6 separate regions of the Homo sapiens genome follow, and regions 2, 3, 4, 5 and 6 are each linked to region 1. Evidence: promoter capture Hi-C in 16 types of primary human blood cells and fetal thymus (Javierre and others, 2016). All regions are on one chromosome and are shown on one strand. Each heading gives the region's core, a stretch centred on a gene start or on the middle of the fragment in contact. The rest is flanking DNA. Distances are from core to core; before and after follow the strand shown.

Evidence for each region. Contacts are between HindIII fragments. The CHiCAGO score rates a contact against its expected background, and 5 or more counts as called.
Region 2: a contact is called between a fragment that was not itself captured here and the fragment with the promoter of FAM187B in region 1, in 1 of 17 cell types (non-activated CD4 T cells). The highest score is 5.6, in non-activated CD4 T cells.
Region 3: a contact is called between a fragment that was not itself captured here and the fragment with the promoter of FAM187B in region 1, in 2 of 17 cell types (total B cells and naive B cells). The highest score is 7.1, in total B cells.
Region 4: a contact is called between a fragment that was not itself captured here and the fragment with the promoter of FAM187B in region 1, in 3 of 17 cell types (monocytes, naive B cells and total B cells). The highest score is 10.6, in monocytes.
Region 5: a fragment that was not itself captured here is called in contact with the fragment with the promoter of FAM187B in region 1 in 3 of 17 cell types (monocytes, naive B cells and total B cells); the score reaches 13.3 in monocytes.
Region 6: a fragment that was not itself captured here is called in contact with the fragment with the promoter of FAM187B in region 1 in 4 of 17 cell types (naive B cells, total B cells, naive CD4 T cells and 1 more); the score reaches 13.3 in naive B cells.

The regions. Positions count from the first base shown.
Region 1 is chr19:35,226,022-35,230,801 of GRCh38, forward strand. FAM187B (family with sequence similarity 187 member B) reads right to left here and starts at 2,718. Exons shown (of 2, transcript NM_152481.2): 1 at 1,938-2,718. The coding sequence starts at 2,659. The HindIII fragment of the contact is 8,324 bases long and covers 1,697-4,780 here.
Region 2 is chr19:34,985,680-34,990,459 of GRCh38, forward strand. No RefSeq gene overlaps it. Among named protein-coding and RNA genes, the nearest start is that of GRAMD1A, 12 kb to the right of the region's middle. The HindIII fragment of the contact is 4,935 bases long and covers 1-4,780 here.
Region 3 is chr19:35,436,946-35,441,725 of GRCh38, forward strand. No RefSeq gene overlaps it. Among named protein-coding and RNA genes, the nearest start is that of FFAR2, 8.9 kb to the right of the region's middle. RefSeq lists enhancers at 1-561, 562-1,523. The HindIII fragment of the contact is 1,233 bases long and covers 1,426-2,658 here.
Region 4 is chr19:35,410,510-35,415,289 of GRCh38, forward strand. LINC01531 (long intergenic non-protein coding RNA 1531) reads left to right here. Exons shown (of 5, transcript NR_040046.1): 4 at 653-773. It also overlaps the pseudogene RN7SL491P. Among named protein-coding and RNA genes, the nearest start is that of LINC01531, 7.3 kb to the left of the region's middle. The HindIII fragment of the contact is 289 bases long and covers 2,142-2,430 here.
Region 5 is chr19:35,390,312-35,395,091 of GRCh38, forward strand. No RefSeq gene overlaps it. Among named protein-coding and RNA genes, the nearest start is that of LINC01531, 13 kb to the right of the region's middle. The HindIII fragment of the contact is 543 bases long and covers 1,772-2,314 here.
Region 6 is chr19:35,080,598-35,085,377 of GRCh38, forward strand. All of the region lies in intron 3 of HPN-AS1 (HPN antisense RNA 1), which reads right to left. It also overlaps the pseudogene LOC100420797. Among named protein-coding and RNA genes, the nearest start is that of HPN-AS1, 23 kb to the right of the region's middle. RefSeq lists an enhancer at 3,521-4,335. The HindIII fragment of the contact is 5,907 bases long and covers 1-4,780 here.

The sequences.
Region 1 (4,780 bases), core at 1,468-3,967:
CTGGCTGTTCCCTCTGTCCCCAGGGCTTCCTCGCCTCCTTTCAGTCTGGGCTGAAATGGCAGCTTCTCAGAGGAGCCTTCCCTGACCCCACCACTTGACACTTTTAACCTCCCCTATTCCCAGCATCCCTTCCTGCTCCGTCACCATCCAAAATACTATAGGTCGGGCACAGTGGCTCAGGTTTGTAATCCCAGCACTTTGGGAGGCCGATGTGGGAGGATCACTTGAGCCCAGGAGTTTGGGCTCAGCCTGGGCAACAAAGTGAGACCTCATCTCTACAAAACTTAAAAACTTAGCCGGGTGTGGTAGTGCATGTCTGTAGTCCCAGCTACTGTGGAGGCTGAGATGGGAGAATCACCTGAGCCCGGGGAATTGAGGCTGCAGTGAGCTGTGATTGTGCCACTGTACTCCAGCCAGGGTGAAAGAGCAAGACCCTGTCTCTAATAATAATAACAATAATAATAATAAAACTATATATTTATGCGCCACAAGGGCAAGAATCTCCGTTGGTTGTGTTCTTCACTGTTTCCCAGGTCCCTAGAATGGAGCTTGGCATATAAATATGCAGTGAACACGTGTTTAGTGGAGAAATGAATCAGGCACCGACACACCCAGCGTGGTGGAAGAACAGAGAGGATATTCCACAGACAATATCATAAAAGCTTGCATTCCCAGCTAGGTACATTGTGGAACTTCTTATTGGATGCTATGGCAGGCACTCTACAGTCTTTAGTCCCCTTAACACATCACAATGACCCTGTGTGGCCAGGGGCTGGCAAGACCTCTGCACTGAGTTAGACAGTGGCCCCCGCAAAATGCATGTCCTTCCCAGAACCTCAGAATGTAACATTATTTGGAAATTGGATCATTGCAGATATAATCAGTTGAGATGAGAGCATATTGGAATAAGGTGGGCCCTCAATCCCATCTGACCGGTGTCCTTTTAAGAAAAGGAAAAGAGAGACAGGGACACAGACACCCAGGAAGAATGCCAAGTGATGATGGAGGCGGGCATTGGAGAGAAGCAGCCACAAGCCAGAGAAGACCGGGATCTCTGACTGCATCCAGAAGCTAGAAAAAAGGAGGATTCTGCCCAGCTCACTCAGAGGGACTGAGAGGGAGCGTGGTTCTACTGACACCTTGATTTCAGACTTACGGCCTCCAGAAGGGTGAGACAATGGATTTCTGGGGTTTTTTTGTTTTTTTGTTTTTTGAGTCAGAGTTGTCTCGTGATGTTGCCCAGGCTGGAGTGCAGTGGTGTGATCTCGGCTCACTGCAACCTCCGCCTCCCGGGTTCAAGTGATTCTCCTGCGTCAGCCTCCTGAGTAGCTGGGATTACAGGCACGTGCCACCATACCTGGCTAATTTTTGTATTTCTAGTAGAGACGGGGTTTCACCATGTTGGCCAGGCTGGTCTCGAACTCCTGACCTCAGGTGATCCACCCACCTCGGCCTCCCAAAGTGCTGGGATTACAGGCATGAGCCACCGCGCCCAGCCTGCATTTCTTATTAAGGGGCAGGTGGACTGGGGGAGAGGAGGGGAAGGGGCTATTTTCCAGAGGCTCCTGGCAGGAAGTAAGAAGATGAGTGTGAGTTCTGGGAGGCAGGCCTTGATGGGAAGCCCCGGGGGCACCAGCCTCTCCTCCAAGGTCTCACTGACCTTTCCAGATGAAGCAGGGGCCTGTTGGAGCCCCTAAGCTTCCTGGGCTTCCCCCATCACAGCCCCATCTGTCTGCCTGGGCTTCTCCCATCCCGGCTCGCACCACCCTGGGCTGTGTCCCCCTCGGACTGTTTAAGAGCAGGGCCTGGCACTGTCCTGATGACCACTACGTGGCTGAACTGCAAAGAACGCCCACTCATCCCTCTGCACATATTACCAGGAAGGATCCCCTGACCGGAAGAATCTGGGTAGGGGCCAGAGGCAGGGATTCCATCACCTGTACATGGATCCTAAGGGACAGTCGAGCCACACAAATTCTGTCTTCTCATCGAGCCTGAAGTTGTCAAAAATGACGTAATCCACCCTTAACTGTGTGTTATTGGTGCACTGGACGTGGCAGGCTTCCACCTGCAGCTCAGGCCGCAAGCGGCTAGACCACACCAGCACCTCTCCCAGATAGAGCCAGCAGGGCATGGCTTCCTCCAGAGGCTCCTCAATGTAGCGGTACCCCAGGCGTTTACACTCGCCCGGCTCCTCACAGCGGTTGCAGTCCTGCCAGGGCTCCCACCAGGTAAAAATGAGCTGTTTGCTGCCCAAATGCAGGGTCTCGTTCTGCAGGGGCCTCTGACCCAGGTCCTTGTGTGTTATATGCAGGGTGGTGACATCCTGAAAGTCAATTTCATACTGCACCACTTGGCGGCCATTCTTGTTCCAGCAGTGGTAGAGGCCCGTCTGGGAGGGCAATGGATCTTTAATGAGAAGGCTGCCCTCGGGCATTATTTCCATATTGGAAATATTGGTGAGGCTGGTGAGCCTGCCCTTCTTGCCTTGTGTGAATAAATAGTACCAGTGCGCCCCCGAGGAGTTGCAATACAGGAGAATATCATTGCCTGAGAGTAGGGCCTGTTGGCACTGCTTACCACTGGGGCAGCTGATGGAAAAGTAGAACCCCAGTGCCGGGGCAGCAAAGTGGAGCAGCAGCCACAGCATGGGTGGCATGGTGGACTGGGGCTGTGGCAGTGGGCTGGTGCCACCCCGAACATTGTGAGGTCACCCATGAACTCTGGCCTCAGCCCTGGGCAGTGGGATGAATTGCAGCTACCACATGTGTGTGTGAGGTCACCATCCCCTTTTGTTTTGTGACAAGCTGACAACACTGTTTTTCTTTTTTTTTTTTTTTTCAGACAAGGACTCGCTCTTTTACCCAGGCTGGAAGGCAGTGCTGCAATCACAGCTCACTACAGCCTCAAACTCCTGGAATCAAGTAATCCTCTCACCTCAGCCTGTTGAGTAGCTGGGACTTCAGGTGCATGCTAACCATGCCCAGCTAGTTTAAAATTTTTTCTGTAGAGACGGGGTCTTGTTATGTTGCCCAAGCTGGTCTCGAACTCCTGGCTTCAAGCCATCCTCCCACCTTGGCCTCCCAAAGTGTTGGGATTACAGGCGTGAGCCACTGTGCCCCGCTGACCATATTTAATTTCTATTCCAAGCCCTCCATTTTGCTGGGAAAGGAGCAAACTTAATTTGTCTATTCAGAGTTTTCTCTACTACCTGCCCCGCTTCCTTTCCCAGGGGTGAGACTACATTCCCAGGGATGAAATAAGAGCATGAAGGTGTCACATGTGAACACTCAACACATATTTCCTGAACTCTTACTATGTTCTGGGCACACTTCTTAGCACTGGGGATAAAGCAGTAAACAAATCCTCTCGGGCTGGGCTCGGTGGCTCATGCCTGTAATCCCAGCACTTTTGGGAGGCTGAGGCGGGCGGATCACCTGAGGTCAGGAGTTCAAGACCAGCCTGGCCAACGTGGTGAAACCCCGTCTCTACTAAATAGCTGGGTGTGGTGGCGGGCATCTGTAATCCCAGCTACTCAGGAGGCTGAGGCAGGAGAATCACTTGAACCTGGGAGACGGAGGTTGCAGTGAGCCGAGATCGCACCGCTGCACTCCAGCCTGGGTGACAAGCGTGAAACTCCATCTCAAAAAAAATAATAAAAATTTAAAAAAATTTATCTCTGGTTACTGTTCTGACCTCCTGCACCTTTCCCCCTACTCCCTACCCTCCAACCACGCTGGCCTCCCGCTGTTCCCTGAATCTGTCAGGCAGGCAGAGGGGCTCTTGCCCCAGAACCATTGCACATGCTGGTCCCCGTCTCTTCCCTCAGCCATCTGCATGACTCAATACATCTTCAACAAATATTTTTCTCAGTTGCTCCCTTTCCTTCCATCCCCTTTTCTAAACACCTTCTCAGGCGGTGGCTCACACCTGTAATGCCAGCACTTGCCAGCACTTTGGGTGGCCAAGATGGGAGAATCACTTGAGGTCAGGAATTCGAGGCCAGCCTGGCCAACACGGTGAAGCCCCATCTCTACTAAAAATACAAAAAATTAGCCAGGCATGGTGTCGGGCATCTGTAATCCCAGCTACTCAGGTGGCCGAGGCAGAAGAATAGCTTGAACCCAGGAGGCAGAGGTTGCAGTGAGTGCAGATTGCGCCACTGCACTCCAGCCTGGGTGACAGAGACACTGCCTCAAATAAATAAATAAATAAATAAATAAATTAAATGATCTTCCAGACTTTTCCCAACATAGAAAAAGATGGAAGATTTCTATGAGACTTGCATCACCTTATCTCAAAACCTTATAAGGACATTACAACAAAGAAAAACCTCAGGTCAATCTCTTTTGTCAACACAGACACACTATCCCAAAGAAAATATTGCAAATTGATTCCAGTGATTTTCTTTACACAAGGATAAATATAAAGACCAAATTGGGTTATTTCAGGACGGCAAATTTGGGTTATATTTGCACATCAATTAATGTAATTCACCACATTAACAGAATAAAGGAGAAAAACCATATTATTATCTCAGTAGATACAGAGAATGCATCTGATAAAACTCAACATTCATTTATGGCTCAAAACTTTTGGCAAACTAGGAACAAAAGGAAATTTTCTAAGAAGATAAAGTGTTTCTATTAAAAACCTAGGACAGGCCGGGTACAGTGGCTCACACCTGTAATCCCAGCACTTTGGAAGGCCGAGGCGGGTGGATCACCTGAAGTCAGGAGTTCGAGACCAGTTAGGGTAACATGGCGAAACCCTATCTCTA
Region 2 (4,780 bases), core at 1,078-3,577, 240 kb before region 1:
GCAGCAGCTCAGCCCCACCTCCTCCTGGCAAGCAGGCAGCATCCTGTCCAGACAACTGTGTGTTGATCCCTCCTCCAGCACTGCTTTCCTGGCCCCAGACATCAATGGCAGCAAGTGCCAGGAAGGTTCCAACGGCCAGGCTGTATCTCTCACTCTTTGTGTTCCAAACAGGTGACTGCTGGTTTGCCCATCACAACGAGCCTCTTGTGCCTTGTAGGCTTAGTCTAAGATCAGAACCATGGGCACTCCTTCTTGGCTTCCTCCTCGACTCACTTGACTTTTCCTGTGTTGGTAGCTCTTCCTCCTCTGACCTTTCAGATACCCCCTAGTTATGCCAGAAGTGCAGAGTGCATTTATGTTTCTGAATCCTCCTTGCTGGTCTGGTGTAATTCCTGAAAGAAGGCATACTGCAGTAATTTTACTTATGATTCTTTTTGCAACTAGCAAGATCAACCAGATATTTATTTATTTTCATTTTTTAGAAAATTTTAATATAATTTTAATGTTGTAGGGAGCATGGGGAATATGGAGAAGGGCAGGAAGAGACTTTTGTGGGTGATGTTGGTTAGCTTGATTGTGGTGGTGATTTCATGGATATATACAAATGTCAATATCAAAGATAAAAATTGTATAATTTAAATATGTGCAGTGTATCATATATCAATTATACTTCAATAAGCCTGTTAAAATAGTTTTAACAATGATGATATATTGCAACTTTTATGTATTTTAAACTAATTGAGTTTTTATACATGAAATTGTACATGTAATTGAGTTTAAAATACGTAAAATTTTAATGACAAGTTAAATTTTATAACATACATTCAGTAAAGTGCATAAATCTTAAATGCATAGTATAATTAATTTTTCATATGACTACCACTACCACTCAGATGAAAATATAGAATACTGGCTGGAAGCAAATGGCTCATACCTGTAATCCCAGCATTTTGGGAGACCAAAGCAGGAGGATCCCGTGTGGCCAGGTATTTGAGACCAGCCTAGGCAACATAGCGAGACCCCATCTCCACAAAAAATAAAAAGTAAAAATATTAGCCATATGTGGTGGCACATACCTGCAGTCCCAGCTACTCGGGAGGCTGAAATGAGAAGATCAGTTGAGTCTGGGAGGTTGGGGTTACAGTGAGTTATGATTGTGTCACTTCATTCCAGCCTGGGCTACAGAGCAAGACCCTGTCTCTAAAAGAATAAAAAAAAATATAGAATACTTCCAACACTTCAGAAGATCCCTCGCGCCCTCCTAGTCATTATCCCCTGAGGGTAAGCACTATTCTGACCTCCATCACCATGGATTGGTTTCGCCTGTTCTTGAACTTTATATTAATGGAGATGCATTCACGCTGATACTTGCGGCAATAGTTTGCTCATTTTCGTTGCCATATAGTATTCCACTGTATGAATATATCACAATTTATTTATTCATTCTCTTTTTGATGGACATTAGGGTTGTTTCAAGGTTTTGGCTGTTATGGATAAAGCTGGTATGATCATTCTTATTCAGGACCTTTAATGGACATTTGTGGTCTTTTTACTTGAGTGTTGTAGTAAGTAGTATAATAGCCCCCCAAAAGATATGTCCACATCCCAACCCTCGGAACCTGTGACAGTGACTTTATTTGGAAAAGGAGTCTTTGTACATGTAATTTTTTTTTTTTTTGAGATGGAGTCTCACTCTGTTGCCCAGGCTGGAGTGTGGTGGTGCAATCTCGGCTCACTGCAACCTCTGCCTCCTGAGTTCAAGCAATTCTCCTGCCTTAGCCTCCCAAGTAGCTGGGATTACAGGCATGCACCACCACACCCAGCTAATTTTTTTTTTTTTTTTTTTTTGTAGAGATGGGATTTCACCATGTTGGCCAGCCTTCACCATGTTGGTCAGGCTAGTCTCCAATTCCTGACCTCAGGTGATCTGCCCACCTCGGCTTCCCAAAGTGCTGGGATTGTGGGTGTGAGCCACCGCACACAGCTTGTACATGTAATTAAATTAAGGATCTCAAGATAAGATCAGCTTGTATTATCTGAGTGGGCTGTAAATCCAATGACAAGGGTCCTTGTAAGAGACACAGGGAGTAGGAGAAGGCCATGTGGAGACAGAGGCAAAGATGAGGGTTATGCAGCCCCAAGCTAAGGACTGTTTAGAGCCAACAGAAGCTGGAAGAGGCAGGGAAGGATTAGAGCCTTCAGAGGGAACATGGCGCGGCTGACACCTTGACTTTGGCCTTCTGGTCTCTAGAACACTGAGATAATAATTCTGTTGTTTCAAGCCACAAAGTTTGGGATCATTTGTGACGGCAGCCAAAGGAAATTAATAATACAAAAGTTCACTTTATTAATACTCATTTATATTTGTTTGTGATGTGCACAACACTCCAATGGAAATTTTAAAAAGTGTTTGGAGTACAGACTTTCCCAAGCCTGGCTAACTTTTTCTTCCTTCTCTGGGAATGGATGTTTTGCGCAGTGTACAGAAGTGTGGAGAGTGACCCCAATGTCCTTGTTGATGTGTGTCTGTAAATCTTACCTGTCACAGTGTGGGCACTCTGAGAGCCCTGTGTCCCCACCAGAAGCATCTGTTCCTTATGCAGCCTGAGTGTCCTCTGCTAGGGTGGCCAGTTCCCCTCCTCCTGCCCTGCCTTTTTGCAGGTTCACAGGTGCAAGACTGGCTGTTTCCTGTTAATATTAACTATACTTGAATTTTCAAGGATTTTTTTAAGAAAAAAATATATAATGCCAATACAAAAAAAAACACAGGAAAAAAAATTAACCTTACTAAACTAAACCTGCCCTGATAGGAGGGTTCTTCTCACAAACCTGACTGCAGAGCAAAATGGAATTGCTCCAATTTCTCCCTTTGCAAACAGGCATGCATCAACTTCTCATTTTAACAACTTTCTTTCTTTCTCTTTCTTCTTTCTTTCTTTCTCTCTCTCTCTTTCTTTTTTTCTTTTTTTTTTTTCAGACAGTCTTGCTCTGTCACCCAGGCTGGAAGTGTAGTGGTGCGATCTTGGCTCACTGCAGCCTCCATCTCCTGGGTTCAAGGGATTCTCCTGCCTCAGCCTCCTGAGTAGCTGGGACTACAGGTGCACGCCATCACACCCAGCTAATTTTTTGTATTTTTAGTAGAGAGGGGGTTTCACCATGTGGGCCAGGCTGGTCTTGAACTCCTGGCCTCAAGTGATCCACCCGCCTTAGCCTCCCAAAGTGCTGGGATTACAGGCATGAGCCACTGTGCCCAGCCTTTAACGACTTTCTTAATAAGTGGTGTGGGAAAACACCCAGAGCTAAACAAAACCAACATGGGGAAGTGACAAGCATTTGAGAATTCTTACATTTCTCATAGCTGTATTCCCCCAGAATCTGGTATCCAGCTTTTTTTTTTTTTAGTCTGGAGACAGGTTGGAGTGCAGTGGTGTGATCAGGGCTTACTGCAGCCTTGCCCTCATGGGCTCAAGCAATCTGCCTGCCTCAGCCTCCCAAGTAGATGGGTCCACAGGCATGTGCCATCAGCCTGGTTAAATTTTCTATTTTTTTTGGTGAAGATGAGGTCTTGTTATGTTGTCCAGGCTGGTCTCAAACTCCTGGGCTCAAGCAATCCTCCTGCCTCTGCCTCCCAAAGTGCAGAGACGATAGGCAGGAGCCATTCCAGCATCTCATATGATGTGGTTGTTGAAATCGACTCTCTCGGGAACATTTAACAATAGCTAAAACAGTTGAGTGGGCACTGGGTGTGTGCTTCAGCTCAGGCTCTTACTTATATTGTTAGATTCCCTCAAAATCCCTGGAGGTGGGGAATTTCCTTGAGGTGGGGGTTTTCCACGCTTTCCAGATGAGGGCTGTACGCTCATTGACTAGAGGCACCGTGTCTAAGTGTCTGAGGCTTAATTCCCATTCTCTAGAAGAGCAGCTGACTATGTGTATGTCAGTGGGAAAGGGGAGAGCCCAGAAAATCATTGCAGTTTATCACAGCCACCCCCACCCCCTCCATCACTGCAGAAACTGAGCCTCCACTATCTTGGAGTTTCCTTGAAGAGTTCCCAGTCTTGGTGAAATATGGGATGGACGGCCAGGCACAGTGGCTCACGCCTGTGATCCCAGCACTTTGGGAGGCCAAGGTGGGTGGATCACTTTAGGTCAGGAGTCCGAGACCAGCCTGACCAACATGGTGAAACCCCATCTCTACTAAAAATACAAAAATTAGCCAGGCGTGGTGGCGCATGCCTGTAATCCCAGCTACTCGGGAGACTGACGTAGGAGAATCTCTTGAACCCAGGAGGTGGAGCTTGCAGTGAGCTGAGATTGCGCCACTGCATTCCATCCTGGGCAACAGAGCGAGACTCTGTCTCAAAAATAATAATAATAATAATAATAATAATAAGAAATATGGGATGGAATTTCCATTGGATGTTAAAGATCCTTCCAAAATAGGTATTTTCCACAGAAAATGTTATATTTGGTCTGACAACTCCTTGCAAAAATGAACTCAAATGGTCAGGAATATTTGTTGCTCTAGGTTTTCAGAAGCAGAATGGGCATCCTTTCTTAGAATACATTCTGGGCCCCTCAGGGTGTTCAGGGTGGGAATAAAGTATATAAAATGAGAAGTCAAAACAGGGAAGAGGTACTAGGGGGGAAGCTGGGCAGAGGAAAGGAACCCTTGGGAGGCCCAAACTTTAATGCTCTGGTTCATAAAATGCAAAAAAAAAAAAAAATCCATTCTCATCCCTCCTGTCCTGTTATTGTCAAGATGCTAGCTCCTTGGACA
Region 3 (4,780 bases), core at 792-3,291, 210 kb after region 1:
CAGCACCTGACTGCAAGTTTCCGCCTCCAGACACTCTGCTGCCTCTCCTCCCTGGCTCAGGGTCAGCACTGAAAATCAGCCCAAGGAAACGACCAGCTGCCTTCTGGCCCTTATCAAGGGTGGTGTGAACCCGCGCTAGCTACCCAGGGGTCTGGCCCGGAAGCGGCAGGGGGAGGGCTTTTTAGTCCTGTGTCTAGTCCAGTGGTCACCTCTGCACGGACAGCAGATGGAGAAGGGGGCTCGGGGAAGGAGGAAAAGGTCAGGCAACCTCTCCAGGATTCCTGGAATAAACATTCCTCCTCCCAAGCTCTTCATTCTGTTTCACAATCAAATCCAGAGTCTTATAAGCATTCATGGAAACCATGAAAGCAAACAACTTGGTAAACGGTAGACAGAAACAGTAAATAGAATCTTCCCTCTACTTCCTGTGTATCCAGAATGTTTAGAGACAGGGAGTGGGGACTGACGACAGATTGCAGCATCTGGGATCTGGGGCTATGGCAGGAACGAGGACATGTGGAAGGCTGGGAGTTGCCTGGGTCTTGGGAGTCTGGGGTTGAAGGTTACTCCTTCATGGTTTCAGGGAAAGAGTGAAGACCACTGGCAAGAAGCCTGGTAACCACACAGACACACCCTGCAGGAAGCAGTTGACACCATCTCACACCCTGACCTGTCCCCCATGTCCTCCTCTGTGGGATGCACAGGACTTCCAGGGGCCACCAAAGAAGTTGGGTCTAACCGGGGCCCTCACAGTACAGTGGCGAGTGTAGTGCGGTGGTAAAGACCATGGACTCCAGCCGGGCGCGGGGGCTCACGCCTGTAATCCCCACACTCTGGAAGGCCAAGGTGTGCAGATCGCTTGAGTCCAAAAGTTCAAGACCAGCCTGGGCACATGGTGAAACCCCGTCTCTACAAAAAATACAAGCATTAGCCGGGCATGGTGGCGCACTGTAATCTTGTAATCCCAGCTACTCGGGAGGCTGAAGTGGGAGGATTTCTGAAGTCGCAGGTTTCAGTGAGCCAAGATAGTGCCACTGTACTCCAGCCTGGGTGACAGAGTGAGACCCTGTCTAAAAAAAAAAAAAAAAAATTAGCCAGGCATGCTGGCGTGCACCTGTAATTCCAGCTACTCCAGAGGCTGAGGCAGGAGAATCACTTGAGCGTGGGAGGCAGAGATTTCAGTAAGCCATGATTGTGCCCCTGCACTCCAGCCTGGGCAACAGAGCGAGACCCTGTCTAAAAAAATAAAAAATAAAAAAAGCCCATGGACTTTTTAGTTCAGAGTTCAGTTCCTCCGTCCACCAGATGCATGACTCCAGGCAAATCACTTCTTTCTCTACATACTTCAGCTTCCTCGTCCGTTAAAGGGGATGAGTGTGTAACTTCCTAGGATGTTTTAAGATTTACATGAGTTCATCTTTGCAAAGCTTTTTGCATGGCACTTGATACACAGTGTCATACAATACAATAAATGTTGGCTGCCATGTCTGCTATGTCCTCTGTCTGTTGTAATGAATTGCCAAAAACTTGGTGGCTTAACATAACAGAAATTTATTCTCTCACAGTACTGAAGACTAGAAGTCCAAAACCAGTGTCACGGGGCTGAAATCAAGGTGCAGGGTCTCCTAATTTTCCCTCCTTTTTCCTCTGTCCTGACCAAGAAACAGAGTGCCTTGACCAACCTGCGACCCAGCCAGCTGCGTGTTTTCTCTGCAGACTTGAACCCAAGCCAGGGCTTGAACATTCCCAGGCACTGATAAAGGTGTTTAGACACTGAAAGAAACCAGCCCTGGCCCTGGGCCAAATTCCTTAAACCCTCATGCAAACCCCTCCCTTGCCCCCTCCCTTTTCTCTCATTGTTCGTCTTGAGGATGCTGCAGCCCACTCTGCAAATTCCCCTCCGAAATGCTTTGCACTAATCACCCTGGCATTTGGTGCTTCTTGCTTTGGGAACCCATCTGGCCCCCTCTTGGGATGGTTTGGGGAACTCCTCGACAGAAACTCCCTTGCCACAGCTTTTCGGGGTGACTCCAGCCAGATCCGGCTGGGATGGAACACAGGTGTTCAGCAGGATTCCATTTCTCCGGAGGCTCTTGAGAAAATCCATTCTTTGCCTCTTCCAGCTTCTGGTGGGCGCTAGCTTGCAGCTACATCACTCCGGTCCTCCAGGATCACAGCATCTTCTCCCCTTCTGTCTGATTTCTCCCTCTACCTCTTTCTTTTTGTGATTACATTTAGGACCATCTCAGATAGTCCAAGATTATCTCCCCATCTAAAGATTCTTTTTTTTTTTTTGAGACGGAGTCTCACTCTGTTGCCAGGCTAGAGTGCAGTGGCACGATCTCTGCTCACTGCAGCCTCCACTTCCCGTATTCAAGTGATTCTCCTGCCTCAGCCTCTGGAGTAGCTGGGATTACAGGATTACAGATGCACACCACCATGCCTGGCTAAGTTTTTGGATTTTTAATAGAGATGAGACGGGGTTTTGCCATATTGGCCAGGCTGGTCTCGAACTCCTGGCCTCAAGTGATCTGCCTGCCTCGGCCTCCCAAAGTGCTGGGAACACAGGTGTGAGCCAATGCGCCCAGTTCTGCCTCCTCCTTTTTGTGATTATGTTTAGGGCCATCTCAGATAGTCCAAGATGACCTCCCCATCTCAAGCTTCTTAATCCCAATGCAAAGTCCCTTTTGGCCGTGGTTCCAGGGATTAGGATATGGGTCTCTTTTGGGGGGACCATCATTTGGCCACCACAGCTGGTGTGATTGGCCAGGAGTGAAGTCTAATAAACAGGACTCAGGTGGACGGAGAGTGGAGGAAGGAGAGGTCTCTGCAGAGAGAGGTTGGGGTATGGCTACCGGCAGTGGGTGGGAACAACCACAGAGGCCCACCACCAAGGCCACAGAGACAGAGTCTGCAGAGTTCTCCCAAGAAGCTAGCCTTGAGACGCTCCTTTTAATTTTCTTCTTCAGCAATGTACCAGCCCGGGGATGGGTTCTGCAGGGACTGTGGAAGTGAAGGACCCCACGACTGGAGTGACAGGGGAGGCTGCATAATAGACAACTAAAAGAGAAGATGCACGGAGGGGGGTGGGCATAAACTGTTACCTTCACAGTGGGTGAGCTCCTCTGGTGAGGCCTCTGCAGGGCTCAAAAAAGGTGATACGCAAATGAACTCAGGGGAACTGCACTGGCACAGGGGCCATTACGTCTCAAAGTCCATCAGCACGTGCTGGTCTAGATTCTCCTTCCCTCTTCATCCCTAGGAGAGTTCCATTTCTCTCTGGCATCCTGTACTTCCTTATTAATTGTCATTTATTTAAAATTGCACACTGGGTGCAATGGCCCACACCTGTAATCCCAGCACTTAGGGAGGCCAAAGCAGGAGAATCGCTTGAGGCCAGGTGTTTGAGACCAGCCTGAGAAACACAGCAAGACCCTGTCTCTACAAAAAATAGCAAATTAGCCAAGTGTGGTGGCCAAGCCCGTAGTCTCAGCTACTTGGGAGGCCGAGGTGGGAGGACCGCTGGAGCCCAGGAGGTCGAGGCTGGAGTGAGCTATGATCACACCACTGCACTCCAGCCTGAAGTGACAGAGCGAGACCCCCACCTCTAAAAATAATAATAATCAGCCCAGACGTGGTGGTTCACACCTGTAATCCCAGCACTTTGGGAAGCCAAGGTGAGAGTATGGCTTGAGGCCAGGAGTTTGAGACCAGCCTGGGCAACATAACAAGACCCCATCTCTACCAAAAATAAAAATAATAAAAACATTTAGAAATAATAATAATAAAACAAAGTTACATATCTCAAATCCTAAGTGATCCTCTCTGCCCCGGGTGCACATTCTCCCTTATCCATGCCATCCTCAATCCCCTCAACCCCTGGCGACTGCAACACCCTCCTAGCGGATCCCTCTGCTTCCAGTTCTGTCCTTCTAGGGAGCATTCTTCACACAGTAGCAGGCTTGATCTTCTAGAATCATATATCACATCACATCATTCCCCTCTTATGGCCCTAAGTGACTTCCCACTGCTCAAAAATGGAGTCTTAAGGCCGGGTGCAGTGGCTCACACCTGTAATCCCAGCATTTGGGAGGCTGGCAATTGTTTCATTCATTCATTCATTTAACAAATATATATCCACCCCCCAGGATGTGCCAGGATCTGTGCCAAGCATTAGAAATATCATGGTTGAAAAATACAGATGGGTCCAGGCGCAGAGGCTGACGCCTGTAATCCCAGCATTTTGGGAGGCCGAGGCAGGCGGTTCACCTGAGGTCAGGAGTTCAAGACCAGCCTGGCCAACATGGTGAAACCCCGTCTCTACTAAAAATACAAAAATTAGCAGGGCATGGTGACAGACACCTGTAATCCCAGCTACTCAAGAGGCTGAGACGGGAAAATCAATTAAACCCAGGAGGCAGAGGTTGCAATGAGCCAAGATCACGCCACTATGCTCCAGCCTGGATGACAGAGCAAGACTCCGTCTCAAAAAAAAAAAAAAAGGTATATAGCCTGGATCATCAGTGCTGACCATGAGGAAAAAGGTCCTGTGGCTTTTGCTGCAAGTCCCTTAAACCACAAGACAGCTCTCAAGTGATTACACGTCCAGGATGTCTTAACAGGTCCCAGAAAAAGATAAATGAGGCATCTGAGGACAAGCGTCCTCTGAGTTTTTGAAATGGACTTATCTCCATTCTGAAGTCACTCTCATCCATCTATCCTCCACTGTCATCCAGGAAATAGTTACTAAGGGCCTAACATGTTCCAGGCTGCACGCCAG
Region 4 (4,780 bases), core at 1,036-3,535, 180 kb after region 1:
AATAATAATTTCCAATATATTTGAATTTATCTCTGTCATCTTATTTTAAATACTTTTAGTGAAGTATGTGCACATATATTGAAATATACATGCATACCGTGTGTATTAGTCCATTCTCACGCTGCTAGTAAAGACATACCCGAGACTGGGTAATTTACAAAGAAGAGAGGTTTAATTGACTCACAGTTCCACGGGGCTGGGCAAGCCTCAGAAAACATAGAATCATGGTGGAAGGGAAAGCAAACAGGTCCTTCTTCACATGGCAGCAGCAAGAAGTGCAGAGCAAAATGGGAGAAGCCATCTGATAAAACCATTAGATCTCGTGAGAACTCACTCACTATCAGGAGAACAGCATGAGGGTAACCCACCCCATGATTCAATTACCTCCCACCTGGTTCCTCCCATGACACTTGGGATTATGGGAACTGCAATTCAAGATGAGATTTAGGTGGGGACACAGCCAAACCATATCACCATGCATGGCCAAATAATAAGTGTACAGGCCAAATAAACTATCACAAATATCACAGAGTGAACACACCTATTTAAGAAAAAGCAAAAAGTCTACCATATTATTTTGTGCTTTTTATTTCCCTCATCTTTTATTTTATTTTATTTTATTTTATTTTATTCTATTTTATTTTATTTTCAGACACAGTCTCACTCTGTTGCCCAGGCTGAAGTCAACGGCATGATCTCAGCTCACTGCAACCTCCACCTCCTGGGTTCAAGCAATTCTCGTGCCTCAGCCTCCCAAGTAGCTTGGATTACAGGTGTGTGCCACTATGCCTGGCTAATTTTGGCATTTTTATTAAAGACGGGGTTTCACCATGTTGACCAAGCTGGTCTTGAACTGCTGACCTTAGGTGATCCAACCACCTCGGCCTCCCAAAGTGCTGGTATTACAGGTGTGAGCCACCTTGCCAAGCCATCCCTCACCTTTTAATATTTCTTTTTTTCTTCTCTCTAGCCTTCTTTTGAGATTCAGTTCGTTTATTTCTTTTCTTTCTCATTTCATTTATTCCTCCACTGACTTGGAAACTGTATGTTCTGTTTCCATTATTTAGTGGTTATTTTAAACACTGTAAGATGGTAGGAGTTCCTCAATGAGTTACTCCCTCCCTCCCTTCCTTCTTCCCTTTAATACCACACATCAAGGAAAACCCAACCCAAGTAGCTTCGAACTATGTGAATCTAGGGCAGCAGTTTTCAAAGCACTGTCTGTGAGGTCAAAACTATTCATAATGCTATTAAAATGCTGATTGCTCTCTTCACCTTCATTATCTCACAAATAATGTGCACAGTGGAGGTTTTGAGAGCTACGTGACGTGATATCATGACGGAATGAATGCAGACCAGATAGGAAAATACAGCTGTCTTCTATTAAGCCAGGCATTAAAGAGATCTGCAAAAATGTAAAACAATGCCACTGTCACGAATTTTTTGAAGATATAGTTGTTTTTTCTAGGAACGTGTCATTTATATTAACATGTAATGGTTTTATGGTTATTATTATTATAAGATAAGTTAATACACATTTTTAAATTTTTCTGTTTTAACTTTGTTTTTTTTTTGTTTTTTTTTTTTGTTTTTTTTGATACGCAGTTTCACTCTTGTTGCCAAGGCTGGAGTACAGTGGTGTGATCTCGGCTCACCGCAACCTCTGCCTCCTGGCTTCAAGCGATTCTCCTGCCTCAGCCTCCCAAGTAGCTGAGATTACAGGCACAAGCCACCATGCCCGGCTAATTTTTGTATTTTTAGTAGAGACAGGGTTTCACCATGTTGGTCAGGCTGGTCTCGCACTCCTGACCTCATGATCTGCCCACCTCAGTCTCCCAAGGTCCTAGGATTATAGATATGAGCCACCACGCCTGGCAGGAATTTTCATTTTTGCTTTTCTTTCCTTTTTTTTCTTTTTTCTTTTTTTTTTCGAGACAGTGTCTCACTCTGCCACCCAGGGTGAGTGCAGTGGCATGAACACAACTCACTGCAGCCTCGTCTTCCCAGGCTCAAGCAACCCTCCCACCTCAGCCTCCCAAGTAGCTGGAACTACAGGTGCACGCCACCATGCTCAGCTAATTCTTGTATTTTTTGTGGAGATGGGGTTTTGCCATGTTGCCCGGGTTGGTCTCAAACTCCTAAGCTTAAAGCAATCCACCTGCCTCAGCCTCCCAAAGTGTTGGGATTAGAGGGGTGAGCCACCACACCCATCCCTTCAGTAATTTTCAAGAGTATAAACCGACCTTGAGATCCACAAGTTTGAGAATTGCTGACCTGGTGAGATGACAGACAGGATTACTCTGCTAAGTGCAATTGTGCACATATAAAACCTTCTGCTACCTGATGTGTCTTTAATGATTCGAAATTTCATAAAGTCTAATGCCACTTAACCTCTCAAAGTGAGTTTAAAGTTTGCCTGATAAAATGCAAAGCTTGTTGAGATATTAAATATGATACTTAACAATCAGAACTATTCCATGAGGAGATAAAGAAGTAACAAAGCCGGCTCAGATGGATGGGATGTAATTGCGCCGCACAGACCTGTATTCACCATGTTATGTTAGTTCCTGTTCTAAAGATGCTTTTTTTTTTTTTTTTTTTTTTTTTTTGAGACAGAGTCTCGCTCTGTAACCCAGACTGCTGCAGTGCAGTGGCATGAGCTTGGCTCACTGCAACCTCCGCCTCCCAGGCTCAAGCAATTCTTATGCCTCAGCTTCCCGAGTTGCTGGGATTACAGGCATGCGCCACCACACCTGGCAAATGTTTGTATTTTTAGTAGAGATGGGGTTTCACCATGTTGGCCAGGCTGGTCTTGAACTCCTGGCCTCAAGTGATTCATCAACCTCAGCCTCTCAAAGTGCTAGAATTACAGGTTTGAGCCACCGCGCCTGGCCTAAGGATTGTTTAAATTGGAGTTTTTCTTCTTGTTTTATGGGGAAGGATTACTTCATCTACAATTAGGTGGAATATTAACCCAAACTATATGTAGGATTTCCAATCTTAGAGGCTATAGGAACTGGGGGAGAAGGAAAGCATAATACTAATTATATTTGTCCTATGTCATCCTAGGGAAAGTGCATATTTAATTCCTGTCAGCAAAGATTAAAGAAAGATTTTCAGGGCAAAAGTTATAAACAGGCTTAGTGTGTTTTATTTTGAACGGGGGAATTCACAAAGCCTTTGTGAAAGCCTCAATTTTACTGTTAGACTACTTGATAGCACCTAGTTAATATAAGCTAGGGCGATTCAACTAGTTCCATTGCACCTCCCGGTAAATAAATGGTTCCTGAGGCATTGTGTTAAGCGAGGAATGGAAGTTTGAAGGTTACCGGCAAGGCTCCTTCAGCCCTCTCCGGTTTTCAGGTTAATGGTGGGGAGAGTGAGTGTCCACCAGAAAGGGACTGTGATGTGACGTTAGGTCACTTGATTTCTGTAAACTTATGGGAGACCTTTCTCCTAAAGATGGGCTCAAGATGCCACCATTTACAATGTTACTCTCAATGACCTTGGGGAAGTCCTGCTCCTAGGGGTGGGACACAGTGATAAGAGGGAGGGGTGTGCCGGGCATGGTGGCTCATGCCTGTAATTCCAGCACTTTGGGAGGCTGAGGCAGGCAGATCACCTGAGGCCAGGAGTTCAAGACCAGCCTGGCCAACATGGCAAAACCCCATCTCTACTAACAATATAAAAATTAGCTGGGCGTGGTGGTGTGCAGCTGTAATCCCAGCTACTTGAGAGGCTGAGACAGGAGAATCACTTGAATCCAAGAGGCAGAGGCTGTAGTGAGCCAAAATCATGCCATTGCACTCCAACCTGGGCAACAAGAGCAGACACTCCGTCTAAAGCAAACAACAACCAAAAAAAAAAAAAAAAAACACAAGAGGAAGGGGTGGAAGAGTGTACTGATTGTTGGACCCTGAGGATTGCAATTTTATCATAACATTCTCTACAGTCTCTTTTCAAAAATGAACCAGCAATCAGAGATGGCACCGATTGGTTTGGCCTTCTTAGCAACATCTCTCCCTTGTCCTCTGCCATGTGGTTTGGTGGAGCTGACTTTACCCCCAGCTCCTGCTCCAGGGGCAGGTGTGAAACCAGGACCCTGCTCATCTACAGTTCATCCTCTGACCACAGTGATGGTTCACACTTGGGTGCATGACTCAATCCAGACCAATGAAAGATGAACCCAGGCTGGGCATGGTGGCTCACATCTGTAATCCCAGCACATGGGAAGGCTGAGGCAGGCGAATCAGTTGAGGTCAGGAGTTTGAGACCAGCCAGGCTAACTTGGCGAAACCCTGTCTCTACTAAAAATACAAAAATGAGCTGGGCGTGGTGGTGCACACCTGTAATCCCAGCTACTTGGGAGGCTGAGGCGGAAGAATCACTTGAACACGGGATGTGGAGGTTGCAGTGAGCCAAGACCATGCCACTGCACACTCCAGCCTGGGTGACAGAGTGCACCCACTGTGGATCCAGCCTTTTTTTTTTTTTTTTTTTTTGAGACAGAGTCTCACCAGGCTTGAGTGCAGTGGCGTTAATCTTGGCTCACTGCAACCTCTGCCTCCCAGGTTCAAGCAATTCTCCTGCCTCAGCCTCCTGAGTAGCTAGGACTAGAGGCGCGCACCACCCCGCCCAGCTAATTTTTGTATTTTTAGTAGAGACGGGGATTCACCATGTTGGCCAGGATGGTCTCGATCTCTTGACCTCATGATCCACCCACCTTGGCCTCCCAAAGTGCTGGGATTATAGGCATGAACCACCGCACCTGGCCAGCCCT
Region 5 (4,780 bases), core at 793-3,292, 160 kb after region 1:
CTTTGCAGGGCCATTTCAAAATATGGCAAAGAAACATGTTTTGGGGTAAAATATTATGACTTTCTTCTTTGTCGTGTAATGTTATACCAGAGTAAGATTGGAAAGTAAGTCACAATATGTAAGTTAAATAAAACCCATCTGGGCTGGGCATGGTGGCTCACGCTTGTAATCCCTGCACTTTTGGAGGCTGAGGCAGGCAGATCACCTGAGGTCAGGAGTTCGAGAACAGCCTGGCCATTATGGTGAAACCCCATCTCTACGAAAAATACAAAAATTGGCAGGGCGTAGTGGCAGGCACCTGTAATTCCAGCTACTCGTGAGGCTGAGGCAGGAGAATTGCTTGAACCCAGGAGGCAGAGGTTGCAGTGAGCTGAGATCGCACCATTGCACTCCAGCCTGGGCAACAGAGTAAGACTGTCTCAACAACAACAACAAAAATCTGATGAGAATTTATGGTTTGTAGAGCATGACTTCTCTAGACCCCTTAGATAGGAATTTGGGCAAGATTTTAAAAATCAGAGCTTAGTTCTCACTAACAAGCCCCAAGAGTGTCCAAACTGAAACAGTCATGGTGCTTTCCTCCCTCCATCATTTGGGCTTATTCAACCTGCAAATGGAAATTCCTTAGAAAATTCCCAAATTGAGAGGAGCCCTTCCTGCTGTCTGGAACCCAGAAAAGACACTCATCCATCCAGACACAGATATCAAATTTCAAAGTCTGTTCTTCCTAGGCAATCAGCAATACATTTGGGGCTGGCAGCAGCAGAGCCAAAGAGAAAAAGATGGAAACCCACCTCCAGCCAAAAAAAGGTCAGACAGCTGTACAGGGGGCTTCTGAAAGTCCCAGTCTGCAGCAGCTGAGCCACAAGCAATGTGTTCCCAGGTAGGGAACCAAAATCTGTTACTGAAATGCCAGGGCTCCAGTCTAGGTCCCGTTGCTCACTGCACAGAAAGCCAATCACCAAGACAATGAGTACTGCCTGGGAAGAAGGCTTTAATTGAGTGCTTTAGCCAAGGAAAATGGGGATCAGTCTCAAATCCATCTCCCTAGTCAACTAAAATCAGGGGGTTATACAGCAGGGAAGAAATGTAACTACATGTGGGAAAACCAGAGTTAGGGAGAGGTAAGGAAGAGGAGTTGGTCAAAGGAATTAGGGAGGGATAAGGAAATCAGGAGGGATGAGGGGTCTGGCATCTCATTGTCTGGATGCAGTGATCTGGTGAGTTTCAATTCGTTGATTTCCTGTGGCAAGAACTCAGATAAGACAAATGCAGGCTTCAAACTTTAAGACCAGGAGGGGGCCAGGCACAGTGGCTCATGCCTGTAATCCCAGCACTTTGGGAGCCCGAGGTGGGTGGATCACGAGGTCAGGAGATCAAGGCCATCCTGGCTAACACAGTGAAACCCTGTCTCTACTAAAAATACAAAAAATTAGCCGGGTTTGGTGGCATGTGCCTGTAGTCCCAGCTACTCAGGAGACTGAGGCAGGAGAATTGCTTGAACCTGGGAAGCAGAGGTTGTAGTGAGCCAAGATCGCACCACTGCACTCCAGCCTGGGCAACAGAGAAAGACTCCATCTAAAAAAAAAAAAAAAAAAAAAAAAAGAAGGGTGAATTTCTACGTTGATCCAAAAGAAGCATCTATGGGACAATCAGGCCAGTTTCATGAGGAATATAAATTGGATCCTGTCATTGCCCTGAATAAAACTTTTCAATGGCTTTCCATTCTGGCCTCCTCCTCACAGCCTTTGAGGCCCTGCCTCTCTCTCCAAGCTTCTCTGGGGCCATCCCCAGAGAAGTGTCACTGACATCGCTCTTCTGGCCTGGACTTCTCTCTGTCCCTTGAGCAGGCCAAGCTCTGAATGTCTGCATGCACCATGCCTTCCACTCTTTACCTGGCTAGTTCCCCACTTCTTCCAAGTTTCTGTCCAATGTCACGCCTTAGAGAGGCTTTCCCTGATCATCCAATATCAAGTAGCCCCCTTCTGATATTATCTCACACTGCGCTCTCATGGTTTGATGTTTGTATGTGTGTGTTCATTTGTTTAACGTGACTCCTACTAGACTGAGAAGCCCATGACAGCAGTCACCACGTCAGTTTTCTTTGTCACTATATACCCAGTGGGTGCCTAAAACCGTGCCTAGCACAGACTGGGCATTTGATGGTGAATAAATGAATGAATGATTTTTTAAAAATATCTCTAATTTTCTACTATTATAAATAATGCTATGAGAACATCCTTTTACATAAAGGCACGTGCACTGTGCATTTCCTACAAGTCGTACTGTTGAATTAAATGATATGTACATGTAAAGCTTTGATAAATATCGATGAATTACCTTCCCCGGCTGAGTCAACCCTTTCTTCCCCAACAGTCTGTAAGAGACCCCATAACTCTGCTGACAAGAGAAAATATTGTATTTTAATTTTTTGAGATGATATTTAGAATTTAGAAACTTAAGTATTAGTCTGGGATTTCCAGAGAAACAGAACCAATAGAGTGTGTGTATGTGTGTCTGTGGGTGTGTCTGTGTGTCTGTGTCTCTGTGCATGTGTCTGTGTGTGTATGTGTGTCTCTGCGGTGTGTGTGTGTCTGTGTGTGTGTCTGTGTATGTATCTGTGTGTGTGTCTCTGTGCATGTCTGTGTGTGTCTCTGTGTGTGTGTACCTCTGTGTGTCTCTGTATGTTTTTGTATGTGTGTCTCTGTCTGTGTCTCTATGTGTGTCTCTGTGTGCATGTCTGTGTGTGTGTTTCTCTCTGTGTGTGTTTTTGTGTGTGTCTGTATATGTGTCTCCATGTGTGTGTCTGTATGTCTCTGTGTGCGTCTGTGTGCATGTATGTTTGTGGCTCTGTGTGTTAATGTGTGTCTCTGTGTATGTGTTTCTGTGTGCATGTTTGTATGTGTTTCTGTGTGTCTCTGTGTGTTTTTGTGGGTCTGTGTGTCTCTCTGTGTGTGTGTATATCTCTCTGTGTCTGTGTGTGTCTCTGTGTTTCTGTGTGCATGTCTGTGTGTGTGTCCATGTGTGTGTCTGTGTGTTACTGTGTGTCTCCGTGTGTGTGTCTGTGTGTTTCTGTGTGTGTGTTTGTGTGTGTGTGTGTGTGTGTCTGCATGTCTGCATGTGTGTATAAAGAGATTTATTTAAGGAATTGGCTCATGTGATTGTGAATGCTTGATGAGCCCAAAATCTGACGGAGGAAGCTGGCTGACTCGAGGCTCAGGAAGAAGTTGTGGTTGAGTCTAAAGAGAGCCTGCTGGTGAGCCAGGAAGACCCACTGCTGCAGACAAAGTCTGAATCCAGCATGCAGGAGAATTCTCTTTTGCATGTGGAGGTCAGCCTTTTGTGCTGTTCAGGCCTTCAGTGACTGGAGGAGTCCCCCACATTTTGGAGGGCAATCTGCTTTGCTCAGAGTCCACCAATGTAAATGTCAATCTCATCCAAAAACACCCTCACAGCAACACCCAGAATAACGTTTCACCAAATATCTGGGCACTGTGGCGTGGCCAAGCCAACACATAAAATTAACCGTCATACTCTGTATTATTTTCATATTAATCTCCCAGATTAAAAATGAGATAGACAATATTTACATATTGTGTAGAGTCATTTGTGTTTCTCCCAATACTTGCTTTGTTCTTATTTGACTTACAGGAGTTCTTTGAATATTGGCTTACAAACCTCATATCAGGTGTATAAGTAGAAGGATAGTGGCCTTTTACTTTGTTGATTGTAATGTTTTTCATAGGTTATCTCTTTTTATGTGCTCAAATTTCTCATCATTTTTTGATGACTTCTACATTATGTCATACTGGGAAAAAGCCTCCTTATTTATAAGACTTTTAAAATTACACAATACCTACACAACATTTATTATTTTTAAAAACATTTTTGATCTTGAATGCACCTGCCTTTTATTCTTGTTACCTGGCTGTAATTCTTCCCAGTGGATAGGCAGCTATCCCAACATAATTTACTGAATAGTCCATCCTTTCCTACAGTGGTTTGAAATGAACCTGGATCACTTAAGTAGGAAGAATCCTCTAAATGTAATCTAAAACAACAAGATTTCATCATTTTTACCCATCCTTACCCATAATGAGGAAAAACATTAAAGATTCAAACATCCAGTGTTGGAGAAGGTGCAGGGGAAGGGATTCTGCCATGTACAGCTGGTGGAAATGTAAATTACCAAACACTATCAGGAAGGTAATATGCAAATATCTATCAACAATTTCAAGGCATACCTCTTTGAACTAGCAATTACATAAATTATAGATCTAAAGATTCATCTAACCAAAATACTCACACCTGTTCAGATAGCTAGCTAGCTAGCTAGATAGAAAGATGATAGATAGATAGATAGATAGGTAATAGATAAATTTGCAGAGGCACTGTTTGTTATACCAAGAGAACTGTAAACTATGTAAATTAATCCTAAATGGTTACATAAATTATAAGACAGTCCTAAAATGAAATACCATGTAGCCATTAGAAAGACTCTAGATTGGTATAGGCTGCCATGAAAAGATCACTAAAGCATATTGTAAGGTGAAAAATAAAATTTCAAAAAAAATATGGAGTATGATTCCATTTATGCTTTTTCTTTTCTTTTTTTGAGATGGAGTCTTGCTCTGTCACCCAGGCTGGAGTGCAGTGGTGCCATCTCGGCCCACTGCAACCTCCGCCTCCTGGGTTCAAGTGATTCTCCTGCCTCAGCCTCACGAGTAGCTGGGACTACAGACGCCTGCCACCATGCCTGGCTTATTTTTGTATTTTTAGT
Region 6 (4,780 bases), core at 1,219-3,718, 150 kb before region 1:
AGCCTGTGTGGGGACTTCAACGGGGACCCCCATGATGACTTCCATGCCCCTGATGGCTCCCTCCTGCCTGACCCGGAGGTGTTTGCACTCAGCTTGAAGGGCCTGGATTCCCCAGCCAGTTGCTCCACCGTGGGCACTGCCCCTCTGTGCCCCCATGACCGAGAGGGCCGGTACCAGTCACTGGCTTTCTGTGGGCTGCTGGGTGCCCACGATGGGCCCTTCCAGGCCTGTGATGAGCTGGCCCAGGCCCAAGTCCACATGGAGAACTGCATCCGTGACCTCTGTGCCACAAGGGGTTCCCGGCAGATCCTGTGCGAGGCTCTGGGGAGCTATGTCCAGCAGTGCCAGCAGCACGGCCTCCTAGTGAGGCCCTGGAGACACCTGGTGGACTGCGGTGAGTGGCATCCTCTCCATGCCAGCCAGCACGTTCTGCCGGCCAGGTCCAGAAAACCAGTTCCGCCCATTTTGTGGGGTTGCATAATTAATGATCTCAGAGTAGCTACTTCAGGCCTGGCCCAGTGAGGCGCTCGACATCACTGGCCTTGGTTTCATGCTTCCCACCAAATTGGCTCCACATCCAGACAGGCTCACCCTGACCACAGTGGCTCCACACCTTGCAGCCACTCAGGTTTCTCAGCCCAGCAGGAAAGAGAGCTCCGTGGGTCTCAGAAGCTCCAGCATGATTTGCACTGCGTCTCTGTGGCTTCAACTGACTCCTTCTTGTACCTCTCACTGTGGCCAGGGGAATGTGAGTCTCCGATTGACTTCTGCCTGACCGCGGGCTCTGCCCTTGGGGAGACTGCCCAGGCAGAAGTTGGGATGAGGTTAGCAGTGGGCAGTAGTACTGGCTGGTGCCCAAAGGACAAATGTCTGCGGCCTCTCACCCTTGTCCTGCTGCCAAGTGATCTTTGTCAAGAGCATTAAGCAGTCTTTCAAACATTTTTGTTGGAGACCCACAATACAAAATATAGTTCATTTCAGGATCTAATTCTATTAGTTTTCTATCTCTTGCTGCTGTAACAAATTGCAACAAACTCAGCAGCTTAAAATAACACTTTTTTTTTTTTTTTTTGAGACAGGATCTCGCTCTGTCACCCAGGCTGCAGTGCAGTGGTGCAATCATGGCTCACTGCAGCCTCCAACTCCTGGCTCAAGTGCTCTTTCTGCCTCAGCCTCCTGAGTAGCTGGGACTACAAGCATGCACCACCACACCTGGCTATTTTTAAAACTTTTTTTGTAGAGACAGAGTCTTGCTATGTTGCCCAGGCAGTTCTCAAACTCTTAGTGTCAAGCGATCCTCCTGCTCAGCCTCCCAAGGTGCTGGGACTACAGGTGTGAGCCACTGCACCCAGCTAATTTTTATTTATTTATTTATTTATTTTGAGATGGAGTCTCACTCTGTTGCCCAGGCTGGAGTGCAATGGCGCGACCTCAGCTCACTGCAACCTCCACCCCCTGGGTTCAAGCAATTCTCCTGCCTCAGCCTCCCAAGTAGCTGAGACTACAGGCACCTGCCACCACAGCTGGCTAATTTTTTGTATTTTCAGTAGAGATGGGGTTTCACCATGTTAGCCAGATGGTCTTGATCTCCTGACCTCATGACCTGCCCACCTTGGCCTCCCAAAGTGCTAGGATTACAGGCATGAGCCACCCCTCCCGGCCCAACTCCAGCTAATTTTTTGAAAATGTTTTGTACAGATGGGGTCTTGCTATGTCAAATTTTTTCTTACAATTCCAACACAGTTCTCGCTGGCCTAAAAATCAACGTGTCTGCAGGAGTGCATTTCTTTCTGGAGGCTCTAGGGGAGAACTGTTTCCTTAATTATTTAAATTGTTGGCTGAATTCAGTTTCTGATGGCTATAGGACTGAGGGCCCTGTCTCTCTGCTGGCTGTAACCTGAGGGTTGGTGTCTACTTCTAGAGGCCACCCACATTCCTTGGCTCATGGCCCCTTCCATCATTTTCAAGGCCACTAACAGCAGGTCAAGTCCCCATTATGCTTCGAAATCCCCTGCCTCTTTCTGATGGACTCTCTGGCCTCTGTCTCCCACTTTTAAGAGCCCACGTGATTACACTGAGCCCAGCCAGATAATCCAGGTTAATCTCTCCCTTCCCAAGGTCTAGAACCTTAATCACATCTGCAAAGTCCATTTTGCCATGTAACGTATCACAGGATACAGCGATTAGACTGTGGACATCTTTGAGGGGCTGTTCTTCAGCTGACCACACCAATATATGCATACACAGCACACAAAGTGTCACCAAATAGGAAAATGCACTCAATACTTTGCATTACATTCTTTTCTATTCTATTTCATTTTTCAAAGCAGGGAATTATCCCACTGATCTGTATAGCATTGAGATTGAGAACACAGATCCCAAAGTCAGCCTGCCTTGGTTAGGATGCCAGTACCACCACTTTCAGCTGTGTGCTCTTGGGGACGTCACTTAACCTCTCCGTGCCTCAGTTTCCCCTTTAACAAGAGAAAGAATGGTGAAAATAACACTTCTCTTGTGGGGTTGTTGTGAGAGCCAAACAAATAAACAGTAGCTGGCAATATAGTGAATATAGTGAATGCTCTACAAGTATTAGCTGTCACTATGAAATTGATTTTTTTTTTGAGGGGGGATGGAGCCTCACTCTGTCACCCAGACTGGAGCACAGTGGTGTAATCTCGGCTCACTGCAAAATTCACCTCCCGAGTTCAAGCAATTCTCATGCCTTAGACTCCCAAGTGTCTGGGAGTACAGGAGCATGCCACCATGCCCAGCTAATTTCTGTATTTTCAATAGAGATGGGATTTTGCCATGTTGGCCAGGCTGGTCTTGAACTCCTGACTTCAAGTGATCCACCTGCCTCTGCCTCCCAAAGTGCTGGTGAGCCACCGTGCCCAGCCTGAAATTGACTTTTAACCTGTGTTAACATCACTCTGTCCTGAGATCAAAACCACAGGGCTCTGCTGTTGGCAGGTCTTGTCCCAGAGTCTGGGTCAGCCTGTCCTGGGGAGGGCCTGGGATCAGCCCGGCCCACACCCTCTCCAGTCCAGCAGGCAGCTGAGATGGGTCCTGAGCCATCTTTTTATCCCTTTGGTGTGAATGGGACAACGCGACCATTTCACAGATGAAGAGCAGACACAGAGCCGCACAGCTGGGGAGTGGCAGGGAGGGGTCCCCCTGGGCCTGATCTTGCCCTGGGTGATGCAGGGGCCAGGGCAGGACTGAGAAGTGCCGGGTCTCTGACCTCGTAGGGCCCACACGCTGCCAGGGTGGCCGAGTCTGTGGTGGGGCAGCCACGGCAGAGTGATCAGGGCTCACATGAGGGAAGCGTAGGGCCACAGGGGAGCACAGAGGAGGGGCTGGCCCAGCCTGGAAAGTCAGGCCAAGTTTCCCAGAGGAAGGGCCACGAGAGCTGAGGCTTGAATGACAAGTCAAAGCCAATAGGTAAGCAAGGAGAAGCCAAATGTTCTAGGGAGAAGGAACAAGGTTTTCAGAAGCCCAGAGACTGTGTAAATTTGAGCCAGAGATGGGGGAGCCTGGAGAGAGACATGGTCCTGGGCTGTGTCTGTGGGGCCTTGAATGGCAGGCAAGAAGTGAGGACTTTATCCCGAAGGACTGGGCCTCTAACCTCCAGGACCCCAAGGCGCAACTCCTTTTCTCTGCCCCTAGTCCCTCACTCCTCTCAGAGCAGGAAGCAAGTTCAGCATCTTGCAAACAAAACCTCTCTTTGTCCAAAGGAAACAGCCCATTGCAAGCTCCGAAGGCCAACACAAGGGACTGGTGGTGGGTGCTCTGGCCTCTGGCCTGCCTGGCCCACCCCTCCTCCCAAAGCCAGAGACAAGCCCCGGGGGCATCACACACTTTGACTAAGGTTAACTGAACACCCACTAAGTGCTAGGCAGCATTCTAGGCGCTGCAGACACAGCAGTGACCCAAACAGACAAAACCTTGCCCTCATGGAGGCGACATTCCAGTGGAGAAGACAATCAGTCAACCCAGCCAGTAAGTAGGTGATTAAACAGTAAGTCAGGCGGGGCAGGGCTGGGGAGTGCTGGAGAAGGGGCATGCAGTATTAAACTGGGGGGTTAGGGTTCCCTGGGGTGCAGAGAGGTGCCCTGGGAGTGGAGACTGAAGGTGGTGGAAAAGGGAGCCGAGCTGGCTGGGGGAGCGGGGAGGCGGGGGGACATTCCAGGCAGCAGGAATCCAGGAAACCCATCCAGGAAGGGTGCAGGTGTCTCCTCCAGCCCCCAGACTCTGGGTGCTCAAATTAAGATGAACTTTGAGCTGGAATATCTCCCACATCCCACCCAGGACATTTCTCCTTTTCTGACTTTCTTTATTAATCCTGAGACTGGGGGACACCCCCACTCCGCCAGCGCACACACACACACACACACACACACACACACAAAACCCTCCCCAGCAATCTCTCCTCCAGTATGTTTTTCCCCTGATCTGTGAAACCCCCAAAGACAAGGGTTAGGGATGGGGTCTCTCTTGGTCACCAGTGTGTCACCAGAACCTACCATAAGGCATTTAAAAGCATAGGTTAGGGCTGGGCACAGTGGCTCACACCTGTAATTCCAGTACTTTGGGAGGCCGAGGTGGGTGGATCACTTGAGGTCAGGAGTTCAAGACCAGCCTGACCAACATGGTGAAACCTTGTCTCTACTGAAAATACAAAAAAAAAAAAAAAAAATTAGCTGGGTGTGGTGGTGTGCACTGGCTGAGGCGGGAGGATCGCTTGAACCCAGGTGGAGGTGGAGGCTGCAGTCAGCCAAGA